2 separate regions of the Homo sapiens genome follow, and region 2 is linked to region 1. Evidence: promoter capture Hi-C in human tissues and cell types (Jung and others, 2019). All regions are on one chromosome and are shown on one strand. The core of a region is centred on a gene start or on the middle of the fragment in contact, and the rest is flanking DNA. Distances in the headings are between cores, read along the strand shown.

Region 1 (7,128 bases), core at 2,084-4,583:
CTTTTTTTTTTTTTTGAGACGGCATCTCGCTCTGTTGCCCAGGCTGGAGTACCGTGGTGTGATCTCGGCTCACTGCAACCTCTGCCTCCTGGGTTCAAGCGATTCTCCTGCCTCAGCCTCCCGAATAGCTGGGATTACAGGCGCCTACCACCATGTTTGGCTAATTTTTGTATTTTTTTGTAGACACGGGGTTTCACCATCTTGACCAGGCTGGTCTTGAACTCCTGACCTCGTGATCTACCCACCTCAGCCTCCTGAAGTGCTGGGTAGTTTCTTAAAAAGGTAAACATATATCTACCATATGACCCAGTAATCCTGCTCCTAGGTATTTACACAAAATAAATACTTATTTTCACACAAAGACTTGTATCCAAATGTTTCCAGCAGCTTTATGCATAATAGTGGAAGATGGAATGACCCAAATGTCCATCAGTGCAAACATGTATTAACAGTGGTGTTCTGTCCATACAGTGGGCCGCCACCCAGCAAAACCAGGAGCCAGTTACTGATTGTTGAGATAGCATGGATGGATCTCAGAAGCACTGTGGTAAGTAAAAGAAGCCACATGCAAAATATTAAATACTGTATGATTCCATTTAGAGGGAATTCTAGGGTCCAGGAGTGGTGCCTCATGCCTGTAATCCCAGCACTTTGGGAGGCAGAGGCAGGCGGATCACCTGAGTTCAGGGGTTCGAGGCCAGCCTGGCCAATGTGGAGAAACCCCTTCTCTACTAAAAATACAAAAATTAGCTGGGCGTGGTGGTGGGCGCACCTGTAATCCCAGCTACTCGGGAGGCCGAGGCAGGAGAATCACTTGGACCTGAGAGGCAGAGATTGCAGTGAGCCGAGATTGTTCCACTGCACTCCAGCCTGGGCAATGGAGGGAGACTGTGTCTTAAAAAAGAAGACAAAATAGAGGGAATTCTAGGAAAGGCAACCAGCAGTGGCAGAAGCTGAGAGGTGGTTGCTGGGAAGGGGCTGGGGGGAGGGGTGGCTGCAGAGGGGCATAAGAGAATTCTTAGGGGTGATTGAAACGCCCTAGGTAATGATTGTTGTCATGATACCATCGCTACACATTTGCCAAAACTTTGCACGTAAATTATATGCCAAGAAAGCCAATTTTTAAAAAGAAGGAAAGGATGGGTTTGAAACCCCAGTTCTTCCCCTACCAGCTGCACAACTTTAGCCGATTACGTCGCCTCACTGAGCCTCTGTTTTCTCATCTGTAACAGGGAATATAAGAGCAGCTGCTTCCCATCATGGCTGGAAGTATTAAATGCATTCATTTGTGGCAAGGCTTATAGTAATGCCTGGCGAAATCCATATTAGCTATTATAGGGAGCGTTCCTCAATTTGCGGAGAGGTTTGGGGTAGAGGCACAAAAGATGACCTTACAGGCCAGTTAACCATTCTCATCTCTGAAATGCCCCGCACTTTCCCTACCATGTCTTGGGAGCGGCTTCCTGATGACAGCAGTTCTGTCCACACGAATCTGAGGCTTTCACCCAGCTGTCTTCTCAGAGCCGAGCCGCTGCCCCTTCCCCTGCCTGTCCCCTGTCAGCGCTTCCCTCCACCCCATGGTCATCGCACACCGGAAAGGCCTTGCGAGCCCCAGGGGAGCAGATGTTGGTGCTCCGATTCCACGAGGAGGCCTCTGGGTTTTCCATTTTACCTGCCTGGATGGCTTAGGACTTTCCCGGACTCTGGGGCTAAAGATTCGGCACCTGAGTTTTAAAACCTTTCCCAGCACTTCCCAGAGATGCCCTCCCGTCCTCTGCACTCCTGTCCTTCCCTGGCCACTTGGGCAGAAGTCATTAGCACTGCTGAGAAGGGATGATGCTGGGGTTTCTGTGCACTCAGGCCCTTAATCCAGATGAGATTTTTTTAAACTCCCCACAGCCAGTTCTATTTCCAGCTGCACCTGCCCCTGGATCTTCACAGTTCCTCTGGAGGGGATTAGGCAAACCGTGCAGCTGCCTAAAACCTCACACCTTGAAGGAAATAGTCATTGAATGTCTGACCTCTGGGCTGGCTGTCTCGGACTCTAAGCTGCCAGGGAACCAGGGCCTTCCACCCAGTGGGACTGCCTGGGGGCTTTTAAATGCCCCTGCCTGTCCCCTACTCCCAGAGATGGTGACTTCCTGGGTCTAGGCATTAGGAGTTTGTAAAACTCCCTGATGATTCTTCTGTCCAGCCCAGGCTGAGAACCACTGGTCAGAGGCCTGGGCACATCCCAAGGCTCATCCAGAACCATGGGGTGCAAGTGACAGAAACAAGAGCGGCTGCTGATTGCCTCACTGAGCGGTGAAGCCCAGCCTTGACCATGGATTAGGCCAGCTGGACCCAGGAGCTCAGGCCGGAGGATGCCTGCTTCCCTCTGCTCTGCCCCACCGGCCCCAGCAGCCTGGGCCCACATCCTCTCAGTCAGAAGCTGGCTCTCACCGGCTGGCTGGGCTCACAGCCCCACCCTGAAACCAGCAGTGTGGCCCGGGGCCCCCGCAGGGCTCAGACAGCCAGGCCTTGGGTGGTTGAAGGCCAAGAGCTGGGGGCCCTCTGGGAACCACACAGCCGGGAATGGGAGGGGGTGCTCCCCAAGGGACAGTTGAGGTGCCGGCTTTCAGTGGGAGGAAAGGGAATGGGTATGAGCTGGACAGAGCCATTATGTCACCCAGAGAGGCTCTGTCCCCCGCCCCGCTGAGGGGGAGACAGTAGGAGAGTGGCCACAGGTCCAGCAGTGGCGAGCACAGGCTCTGGGGTCAGGTGTTGGAGCAGGGTCCAGCTCCTCCACTGGCCAGCTGCATACCTGGTTCTCAGTGCCTCCCTCCCCTGGGGACAGGGGACAGTGCCATGCAACCTTGTGGGGCACAGGCCCTCTGTGTGGTCAGCATGCCAAGAGCACAGAGAGGGTGGATTTGCACATAAGCAGCCCCCTGTGTGGTGTTCACCCAGCCAGCAACGTGCTAGACCCAGGAAAAGACTCGGAGCGCTCTGTCAGAGTCCACAGCCACACCACCAGGTGCAGACTGTCTGGGCCCAGAGCCTCTGCTTCTTCCCCTCCCGTCCACCAAACGCCAGCCCCTGACCAGCCTGGCGGCCTTTCCAACTGAGTGTGGCTGTTAGTCCTCTTGCAGGCCTTGCTCCAGCCAGACTCCCACCTTGGGCCTCTGCCAGCCTGGCACTGATAGCCACAGGCAGAGCTGAGACAAAAGAGAGGGGCCCTGGGGAGTATCAGCAGCAGCCAATCCCGGAAGACATCTATGTCAGGTGGTTTCTGGAAATCGAAAGTAGACTCTTTTCTGAAGCATTTCCTGGGATCAGCCTGACCACGCTCCATACTGGGAGAGGCTTCTGGGTCAAAGGACCAGTCTGCAGAGGGATCCTGTGGCTGGAAGCGAGGAGGCTCCACACGGCCGTTGCAGCTACCGCAGCCAGGTAAGCTCCTGCCTCTAGCTCTCAGGTGGGCACCCCTCTCAGTCTCTCTCTCTTTTTTATTTTTATTTTTTTTGAGACAGGGTCTCACTCTGTCACCCAGGCTGGAGTACAGTGATGCAATGTCCGCTCACTGCAGCCTCTGCCTCCTGGGTTCAAACGATTCTCCTGCCTCGGCCTCCCAAGTAGCTGGGATTACAGGCGCGTGCCACCACGCCCAGCTAATTTTTGTATTTTTAGTAGAGACAGGGTTTCGCCATCTTGGCCAGGCTGGTCTCAAACTCCTGACCTCTGGTGATCCACCCGCCTCGGCCTCCCAAAGTGTAGGGATTACAGGTGTGAGCCACCGCGCCCGGCCAGGGCACCCCTCTCTCTACACAGGCAAGTGGGGGTCATGCCTCCCTGTTTGCACATAGGCCTGGAGCTGGGGATCCAGGGCTCCTGAGTCCAGCAACAATCATTGCTGCTCCCAGGCCCACAGGGCCTCTGTGTACAGTTGGGCAGATTACTCACTGCACAAGGATACCAGCCAAAGGGCAAGTGGGTTAGAATTCAGCTTGGCCCTCTCTCAGACCTGTGCATTTGGCCTAGGCCTGCACCCACTCCAAGGAAGAGCACCTTTTTTTCTGATTTGCACGAAGGGGCCAACACAGGCAGCCGGGTCTCAACTGTATGAAGGAATCAGGCAAAAATAGCCGCTGCCACACAAAGGGCAGCGACGCCACCTGCCAGGTGCTTCGTTGCCCCCCCCCCTTTTTTTTTTGAGACAGAGTCTTGCTCTGTCACCCAGGCTGGAGTGCAGCGGCTCACTACAATCTCTGCCTGCCGGATTCAAGCAATTCTGTTGCCTCAGCCTCCTGAGTAGCTGGGACTACAGGTGCACACCACCATGCCCAGCTTATTATTATTATTATTTTGTATTTTTAGTAGAGCCGGGGTTTCACCATGTTGGCCAGGCTGGTCTTGAACTCCTGACCTCAAGTGATCCACCTGCCCCAGCCTCCCAAAGTTCTGGGATTACAGGCGTGAGCCATCGCGCCTGGCCAGTTGGCCATTTTTCCAAGGCCCTGAGTTACTCTCCCAGGACGGACAAACCTAGTGGCTGCAGCAGAGTGAAGTGGCTGGGGGCAGAAGTGGAGAGGGCGTCCACCCATACCGGCGTGCCTGGGACTGAGGGGTTTCCCAGGACACAGGGAAACTTCAGTGCTAAAACCAGCACAGTCCCCAGCACACAGGACAGGCGGTCACACCCTGGCCCCTTTAGCCATCTACTGACATTGACACAGGGAGGAGAGGTGGGCTCCCCCGAGCAGACCCCCTGCCTGTGGCTCACTGACTGTGGATGTGGAGCCCATTTGCCTCTCTGGGTGTCAGCTCATTCACTTGTAAGGTGAGGTGTAACTAAGGTGGTTCTCAGGGTCACGGTAAGGCCTCCAGTGGTGCCCGGGGAGCCCCGACAAGGGGTGGCTGCACAGTGCCAGCGAGCACGAGTCCCAGAGCAAAGCTGCTCACCAGCCAGTGCACCCAGCTCCCAGGGCGCTTGTTCATGCAGACTCCCATGCAGAGGGGCTAGGGCAAGGCCAGCCATGACTGCATTTCCGACAAGCTCTGGGGATGCCATTGCAGCCGTCCACCAGGCCCCCTCCAAGCAGCCTCAAGGTCACCAGGCCCAGACTCCCAGCCGGTGCCCACAGCAGTGCCACCCAGAGGCCTGCCCCAGGCTTGCTGAACTGAGGGGACAGTGTCAGGTATCACAGGATTCTTACCGAGCCAGAGAAACCATAACTGTCTCTCCATTGGCAGGGTGTGGGGGAGGGAGGCAGACGAAGACAAAAGCGTGGAAATTACACGGAGGCAAGAACACCAGGCCAGAAGGTGGAGACCCGGACCTCCCCAGTCCTGGCCTGAGTGTCAGTGTCTTGGGGATACTTCAGCATTTCCTCCCTGTTCTTCCCCCAGCCTGGCCCACCCTGGGCTGCAGCCCTGACCCTTTTCATCTATCTTCCCCATCGGAACACCACGGAGCCCCGATATATCTCCCTGCCACTTATCTCTGTCACCCCTCGCCCGGATTCTGTGCCCTCTCCTGACGAGTCCCCTCCCATCCACTCTCCAGGCTGCAGCCTCGTCTCTGCCTGCTGAGACCCTCTGGGACAGTCCCTGCAGGGGTCTGTTGCCTGAAGCTTAAGGCCGAGATCTTAACCAGGCTCACCCGGCCTCCCGACCTGGGCCCACGCCTGTGGCCTCCTCCATCTCCCCGCCCATGCCCGTGTGGCAGCCTTGCCCGGGGCCTGGTTTTTTGAGATGAGCTCACTTGCCTCTAGTCACCAATTCTTGCTGCCCTTACTGCCAGGGGGTGCCCCCAGCCCACGCTTCATCTAGCCAAGTGTTACACATCCTTCCAGGACCACACTGCAGACCAGGTGAGGGGCCCCCGCGGGGGCATCCACAGCACACGTCACACTTACTGGGATCATAGTGGGCTCTGCAAGAGAGGGACCCCGCCTGCCACACAGCCCAGGTTGGGCTGAAGGGTGAATGGGCAGGCCAGTCCCTGGGGCCTCGGGCCATCTGGCTCCCGTGCCTCACCCCTCCGCTTCTGTCTGCTGCAGGATCTGGGCATCCAGGCACGGCCATGACCCCTCCGAGGCTCTTCTGGGTGTGGCTGCTGGTTGCAGGAACCCAAGGTGAGCTGAGCCCCTGGGAAATACCAAAAGCAGAAGTGTGGAAGGCTGGTGCACCCTGGGGCTGCTCAGAGCTTCAAGGAGATATTCTGCCTGGGGCCCGGGGCCCAGCGGTTAGCCAGATCTTCTCTCCTGCTTGAAGCACCAGGTATCCCCAGTGATGATGACTTGGAGGTTCCCGGGGGCTCACCTGGGTTCAGGTGAGATGCAGGTTATAGAGAGGACACTAGGGAATCCTCCATTCCGTCCAGAGGGAACCAGAGGGGCTGATCAAACCAGCAGTCACAGGGGCCGTTGTGAGGTCAGTGGCCTTGGACGCAGGTCAGTCTTCCAGAGGGTCCTGGCTGCTTTTCCTCACATTCTTTACACTGTGAGCCCCTGGAAGCTCATGCTCATCCTGGGGGCCCCATGGAAGCCAGATGTACCCCCGACTGGATTCAGGCACCCAGCTCCTGCCCGGCTCTGTCAGCTCCTGTAGGGGCTGGAGTGTTGGTGGACTGAGTCCCAGAAGGACATGTGGGGCGGGGGAATCCCATTATCTGCCCTGGAAACATTCTGCCTGTGCTCCCAGGGGTCCCTAGGCCTGCTGCCCCCATAGGCCAGCACCCCCAAACTGCAGACACCCTCTGCAGGGCGGGTCAGCACGGGGCCTCCGTTCCCCTCCTATCCTTCCCTCAGGGTCTTGCCACCTCCACTCCCAGTGCTGGAGAACTCAGGGCTTCTCTGCCCCTGTTCTGTCTATGGAGTGAAGGGCTGAGACCCCTAAAACAAGGAAAGGCGAGTTTGGCCTCCTTGCGGGGTAGGGGGGGCTGTATGTATCTTCCACTCCTCCCTCATGGAGGTGCCCCTCATGGAGAGGCCAGGGGACCTTGAAGCCCTGAAATACAAGCTCAGCAGGGGAGACCCAGGACAGCATATGGGGCCTGGAGGTGTGGGCGGTGGGTGCTGCAGGCCCCAGCCTCGCCCTCGCTGGTCTCTGCCTGCAGGCGTGAACGATGGTGACATGCGGCTGGCC
Region 2 (6,472 bases), core at 3,210-5,709, 180 kb after region 1:
CCCTCTGAGAAGAGGAAAAAGACCTTTGTGGGAGAGCCGCAGAGGCTGGGCTCAGAGACGCGCCTCCCACAGCACATCAGGGAGGCCACTGCGGCTCCCCACGGGAAGAGGAAGAGGAAGAAGAAGAAGCGCCCGGAGGACACAGCTGCCAGCGCCCTGCAGGAGGGGCAGACACAGAGACAGCCTGGGAGCCCCATGTACAGGAGGGAGGGCCAGGCACAGCTGCCCGCTGTCAGACGGCAGGAAGATGGCACACAGCCACAGGTGAATGGCCAGCAGGTGGGATGTGTTACGGACGGCCACCACGCGAGCAGCAGGAAGCGGAGGAGGAAAGGAGCAGAAGGTCTTGGTGAAGAAGGCGGCCTGCACCAGGACCCACTTCGGCACAGGTAAGGGCAGGAGCAAAGTGGCATCTGTCTACCTCTGACGAGAAACAAAGCAAAACCACAGAATCTACCCCCAAGTAGGTATGGTCTGGAAACGTAGTCTGCTTGCGTGGTTTTCTAAAATGTGGATTTGTGATCAGATGTCTCCTCTGGCTGGGTGTGGTGGCTCACACCTGTAATCCTAGCACTTTGGGAGGCTGAGGCGGGTGGATCACTTCAACCCAGGAGTTTGAGACCAGCCTAGGCAATATGGAAAAGCCCTTTCTCTACCAAAAACAAAAATTGGTTGGGCATGGTGGCATGCACCTATAGTCCCAGCTACTCAGGAGGCTGAGGTGGGAGGATGGTTTGAGCCCAGGAGGTGGAGGTTGCAGTGAGCTGAGATCGCGTCACTGCACTACAGCCTGGGTGACAGCTAAACCCTGTCTAAAAAAAAAGAAAAAAGAAAAAATATCTCCTCTGATAAATACCAGTGGATTGATCCTTGAAGCGACAGTGGTGTGGACAGTAGTGTCCATCATTGTATGTGCAGGGCCGTTCAAGGATGCTGGATCAGGTGTCCCGGGCCAGGCCAGGATCTGCCGTTTCATCAGGTCACAGTAGCCTGCACATTGGCGTCAACAGGCTTGGCTCAGTTAGGATGGGAAACGCGACTGGTTTTCCCTCTACTGTCTCCGTGGCTGCGTGTGGAGCGTCCGCTAATGCGTGTGGGGGGAAGAATGTTGCAGGGACCTGCGTGCACTGGGTCACAGCTGGGGTGGCACCTTCTCCATGTTGCAGGCGGGTGTCTGTGCGCTCCTGCTCCCCTTCCAATTTGCTCAGAGCTGACTGCTGCCTCTCACTTCCAAGCAGCTGCTCTCCCATGGGTGATGGTGATCCAGAGGCCATGGAAGAGTCTCCAAGGAAAAAGAAAAAGAAAAAAAGAAAGCAGGAGACACAGCGGGCAGTAGAAGAGGATGGGCATCTCAAATGCCCAAGGAGTGCCAAGCCCCAAGATGCTGTTGTCCCCGAGTCCAGCAGCTGCGCACCATCCGCGAATGGCTGGTGTCCTGGGGACCGCATGGGTATGCACCGGGCGAGGGGGTGGGAACCGCATGGGTGTGCACCGGGCGAGGGGTTGGGGGACCGCATGGGTGTGCACCGGGCGAGGGGTTGGGGGACCGCATGGGCGTGCACTGGGCGAGGGGTTGGACCGCGTGGGTGTGCACCGGGCGAGGGGGTGGGGGACCGCGTGGGTGTGCACCAGGCGAGGGGTTGGGGGACCGCGTGGGTGTGCACCGGGCAAGGGGGTGGGGGACCGCGTGGGTGTGCACCGGGTGAGGGGGTATTGGGGAGTGCACAGGCTGAGAGCAGCGTCTACTGCATCTGAGCTTGGGAGGGTCTGGGAGAAGATGTGGAGGGCCCTGGGACCCTACCAACCTTCACCCCCCACCCCCGAGTCTGCTCCCTTGGGTGATGGGGTTGAAGCTTCCTCATGTGTCACAGCATTTGACTGAAACAGCCCCATGAGAGAGGTTACAGTGCACATGAACTTTAAAACATTCTGTGAATGCCAGTGGGTCTTCCGATTCAAAGCTGTTCTGTCTACAGCTTCTCACGGAATGACTCCCTGAACTCCCAGCCTGAGTTTTTTTCTGTGATGGTTGAATTTAGAAGAGTTGGGTTCAAAAGTGAATCCTCCTCTCCCTCTATGTAGCTGGGCCATTCAGAACATAGCACGGTTTGCTTGCTGTTGGGGACCTGTGTGCTGTGGCTGTCCTTGGGCACCACCCCTCAATCGGAGGGTGTTTTGTTTTCTTTAGGGCTGGCTGGGGCATGCCTTGGCAGGCACCCGCCACAGAACACATTTGTTAAGTGAAGGGGAGAGAAAGTCCTGGCTGCTTGGTATAGGGGGCCGAGCTTGAGTGAGGCCTCCTCTGCAGTCTGGAAGGTCTGATTATGGCAGTGCATCTGGGGGTCAGCAGGACCTTAGAGACTGATTTGTATTTATCCAACTCTTAAGAAAGGAATTTATCGTTAAAAATGAAATGGTATGAAATAAATAGCAAAACGTGGGTGCTAGCTAGTGCCGACTGAGTTTGCTGGCCAGCATGCTCTCAGAAGTACTGCCCTGGCCGGGGGTGGTGGCTCACGCCTGTAATCCCAACACTTTGGGAGGCCGAGGCGGGCGGATCACAAGGTTAGGAGATCGAGACCATCCTGGCTGACACGGTGAAACCCCGTCTCTACTAAAAATACAAAAAGTTAGCCAGGCATGGTGGCGGGCGCCTCTAGTCCCAGCTACTCGGGAGGCTGAGGCAGGAGAATGGTGTGAACCCAGGAGGCGGAGCTTGCAGTGAGCCGAGATTGCGCCACTGCACTCCAGCCTGGGTGACAGAGTGAGACTCCGTCTCAAAAAAAAAAAAAAAAAAAAAAAAATACTGCCCTAACATGGCACCAGAGCTGTGCTCCGTGCCACCCTCGGAGCGAAGTGGAGTTGGCTTGTTAGTGCAAGGGACATCACTTGAGCACTTGCGGTGCGCCAGGGTCCATGCCAGGTGCTGGTTGTGTCTACTGAAGTGCGCCCTGGGCCCTCGGGGCTCCCTGGCAGAGCCAGAACCACACAGTAAGGGCTCATGCTCAGCAAGGAGGCGCTGGGGGCCGCATGGGCTCTTGCAGTCCTGTGCACCTGAGGAGAGTGGCTAAATGGGCAGGGCACCAGACCCAAGGGCAGGAGGCGCAGCACGTTGGGAGCAGGCAGGCTGCTCTGCATGGCCGGGTCCCTGGGCTGTGTGGATGAGATGGGAACCATGGAAGCCACTGTGTGGGGGCAGGGGACACTTAGCCTGGAGCTCACTGAGGAATTGGAGGCAGGGAGAAATGAGGTCAGATTTGTGTGAAGGGAGGTGAGTATATTCCAGGGGCTATGTGGCTAGCTGGGCAGAGGACGAGTTCAGAAAGGGTTTCTAGAACCCGATGAGGGTGGTGAGTGCTGTCCTGGTCCCGAGGTGCTGGGTGGACCTGTGCGGTGTTGCTGATGGGGACCAGGTTCCCCCTGGACAGGGCTTAGGAGGTCGGGCCCCTGATGGCAGCAGCCAAGCTTGGCCGTTCCCTCCACCCCTGTGGCCATCCAGGTGTCAGGCTGGTCCTGGGGCATGGGCCTCTCCCGTAGGTGAGGTGGATTCCATTTAGATCTAGTTCTCTTCTCTCCTTCTGTCAGACTGAGGACTTAACACTACTGGTTAAAGGGGTTTTGGAGGGTTTTTTTTTTTTTGGTTTTTAGCTTTTTGTTATTTTCCATGTTTTCTTTCTCATGAATTGACTTGGACAACAGCCTTCTCTATTGTGTCAGGTCATTAGTAAATTAAGCATGTAAGCATTAGTAAATAAGCATTTAGGCTGGGCGCCATGGCTCATGCCTGTAATCCCAGCACCTTGGGAGGCCAGTGGGAGTCCCAAGGAGTTTGAGACCAACCTAGGAAACATAGTGAGACCCTGTCTTTAAAAAAAAAAAAAAAAAAAAAAAAAAAAGGCAAGCATCCACTTACTGTAAGTTGTTTTATAATTTAAGGTGTGCGATTGCTTCCCCAGTGGGTTATTTTAAACGTCTGTAAATGTTTCTTGGCTGCTCCGATTGCAGGGCTGAGCCAGGCCCCTCCTGTGTCTTGGAATGGAGAGCGGGAGTCTGATGTGGTCCAGGAACTGCTCAAATACTCATCTGATAAAGCTTACGGGAGAAAAGGTACTGATTTGGAGACAGGACTTCTGTTTGCCTTTCATTGGTTGGTTTTGTAGGAGGGAAGGGTGTGGAATGGATCCTGGTGCACTGTGAGTGTGGCGGGCGGGCATCGCTCGGCTTTGAGAATGGGAAGAGGAATCTCAACACTGGCTGGAGTCCTCTTTAAACCCTCAGCCGTGGCACGAAGGTGGCTTCTGTCCGTGGCAGGATCCAGAACAGCTGCTTCTGAGGGTTGGGGCAGGGTGAGGAGCCCCACACATGCTGTGTCTTGGGTAGGGAAGGGGCAGAGTGACGAAGCTCTTCCAACCTGGGTAATGTCACTTCTTGCTCAGAGCATGTTTTTATTCAGACTTCGAGACCAAACATGACATCTTTGTTCCTCAGACGAGGGCATGGGTTTAGAAAGAACTGAACTCTTTGGCTGTGGTTTAGGGTTTAGCTAAGAGGGCATCGCTGGGGGTTCCATGCTGACCGACCACACATGGGCGTCGAGCCGTCCTCCTCTTGTCCTTCTCTTCACCACAAGGTGGCACTCAAAATTGTTGACTAATTATGAGTAGACTAGTTGGTAAATGACACTCTTGAAGTGAAGCCACAGGGGACCTGGGAACCTGCACTCGTGCTGACCCCCGTGTCTGCCTGGTAGTTCTGACCTGGGATGGCAAGATGTCGGCGGTCAGTCAGGATGCTATTGAAGACAGCAGACAGGCCCGGACTGAGACCGTGGTTGATGACTGGGACGAAGAGTTTGACCGAGGGAAGGTATGATGTGTGATGCTGACCACAGGCTTGAGGGAGCAGGGCGGCGTGGCTCAGCTCAGAGCCGGGGCAGTTGGAGGTGGCGGCAGTGGCATGAAGCGGCCGAGCATGAGAAGAGCCAGGCTGCCCAGGCCTGTCCGGGCGTGTGGCCATGGACAGGGCATGCATCCTCGCAGCTTCCGCCCCTTTGTCAATAGGGGGACTGCAGGTCGCCGTGCACAGGGGTCATTGTGAAGAGTGGGTCTCCAGAGAGCTCATGAGAGCCCGGCCTGTGTGCAGGACCTGCATGCAGCATGGAGCCCCGTGGGCCAGGAAAGAGCCGTTTTTGGGAACTGTGATGCCTGTGATTCTTGGTCTAGGAAAAGAAAATTAAAAAATTTAAGAGAGAGAAGAGGAGAAACTTCAACGCCTTCCAGAAACTTCAGACTCGACGGAACTTCTGGTCTGTGACTCACCCAGCAAAGGCTGCCAGCCTCAGCTATCGCCGCTGACTGTGCCCCTGTGGAAGGAGGTCGGTTCCGAGGGGGTGGGTGTAAGGGTGAGGTGGGGGTGTGTGTGCCGTGTATGTGTGTAGGGGTGTGGTGGGGTGTGGCGTGTGTGTATGATGTATGTGGGCTGTGTATCTGGCACATGTGTGTTGGGTGGTGTGTGTGGTGTGGGCGCGTCTGTGGTGTGTGTCCTAGTCACTTGGAGAAGGGTGTGTGTGGGATGCGTGTGTATAAGGGGGTGTGTGTGGGATGCGTGTGTATAAGGGGGTGTGTGTAGTGTGTGTTGGGTGTGGGGTGTGTACACCTGGCATCTGTGGCATGTGTTCTGGTCACTTGGAGAAGGGCATGTGTGGGGTGTGTGTGGGATGTGGGTTGTGTGTATATCTGGCATGTGTCCCAGTCACTTGCAGAAGGGTGACTTCTTGCCAGCCGCATCGAGATGCCATGCATTGGGTTCCTAGGTTGGACTCATACCCGAGGGTGGCAGTGGGAAGATTCGGGTCTCGTTTCTCTCTGTCAGGACTACCGTGGTTTGTTCTGCAGCCTCCTGGAGACAAGGCGTCCCTTCCCGGGAGCTGTCGGTCTGGATCTGAGGGAGCTCTCTGTGTGGGCTCTGCTGCGCTGGGAGCCTGTCACGGTAGGAGCTCTCCCGGTACCAGTGTCCACAGACCGCCCAACACAGAGGCTTTGAGGCTTCTCTAGATCGGAACCTCTTTGGTGACATTCCCGACCAGCCCTGCAAGAGAAACGACAGTGTGTGTGTGAGCAGAGGTGGCCGCACACCTGCTGGACATCTTTGCCAGGCTGTGCCTTCTCATGTTTCATAGACAGTGGTCTGTGCTGGCAGAGGCTGCTGCCCCTGGTTGGGGCTATCAGGAGAGTGGGGGATGGTGGCCACATGTCCCCCAGGTGGTCTCCCGGTGCATAGCTGGTGGCTCTGGGCAAGCCATCCCTTGCTTCTCGGGGCTGACGCCACCGTTGTGTCCGAGCCCGCCCTCCCCTGCTTCCTCAGCGGGACCCCTTCATCTGTTGGCCTTACCTGTCCTCAGAAAGGAAGAGGTGACCCCACCCAGCCACCTCTCCCTTTTATGGAACTCGAGAGGGTGGCCCTACTGTGCACC

The links. Contacts are between HindIII fragments. The study calls those that stand out against the background at their distance.
Region 2: a contact is called between a fragment that was not itself captured here and the fragment with the promoter of LGALS3BP in region 1, in 1 of the 25 tissues and cell types used here (spleen).

What each region holds. Positions count from the first base shown.
Region 1 is chr17:78,976,128-78,983,255 of GRCh38, reverse strand. LGALS3BP (galectin 3 binding protein) reads left to right here and starts at 3,333. Exons shown (of 6, transcript NM_005567.4): 1 at 3,333-3,432; 2 at 6,042-6,116; 3 at 7,100-7,128. The coding sequence starts at 6,065. RefSeq lists enhancers at 2,307-3,299, 6,397-7,080. The HindIII fragment of the contact is 8,620 bases long and covers 1-6,920 here.
Region 2 is chr17:78,797,302-78,803,773 of GRCh38, reverse strand. It overlaps USP36 (ubiquitin specific peptidase 36), which reads left to right. Exons shown (of 21, transcript NM_001385174.1): 16 at 1-389; 17 at 1,239-1,450; 18 at 4,006-4,107; 19 at 4,751-4,866; 20 at 5,223-5,374; 21 at 5,895-6,472. The coding sequence ends at 5,354. Among named protein-coding and RNA genes, the nearest start is that of CYTH1, 18 kb to the right of the region's middle. The HindIII fragment of the contact is 3,600 bases long and covers 2,660-6,259 here.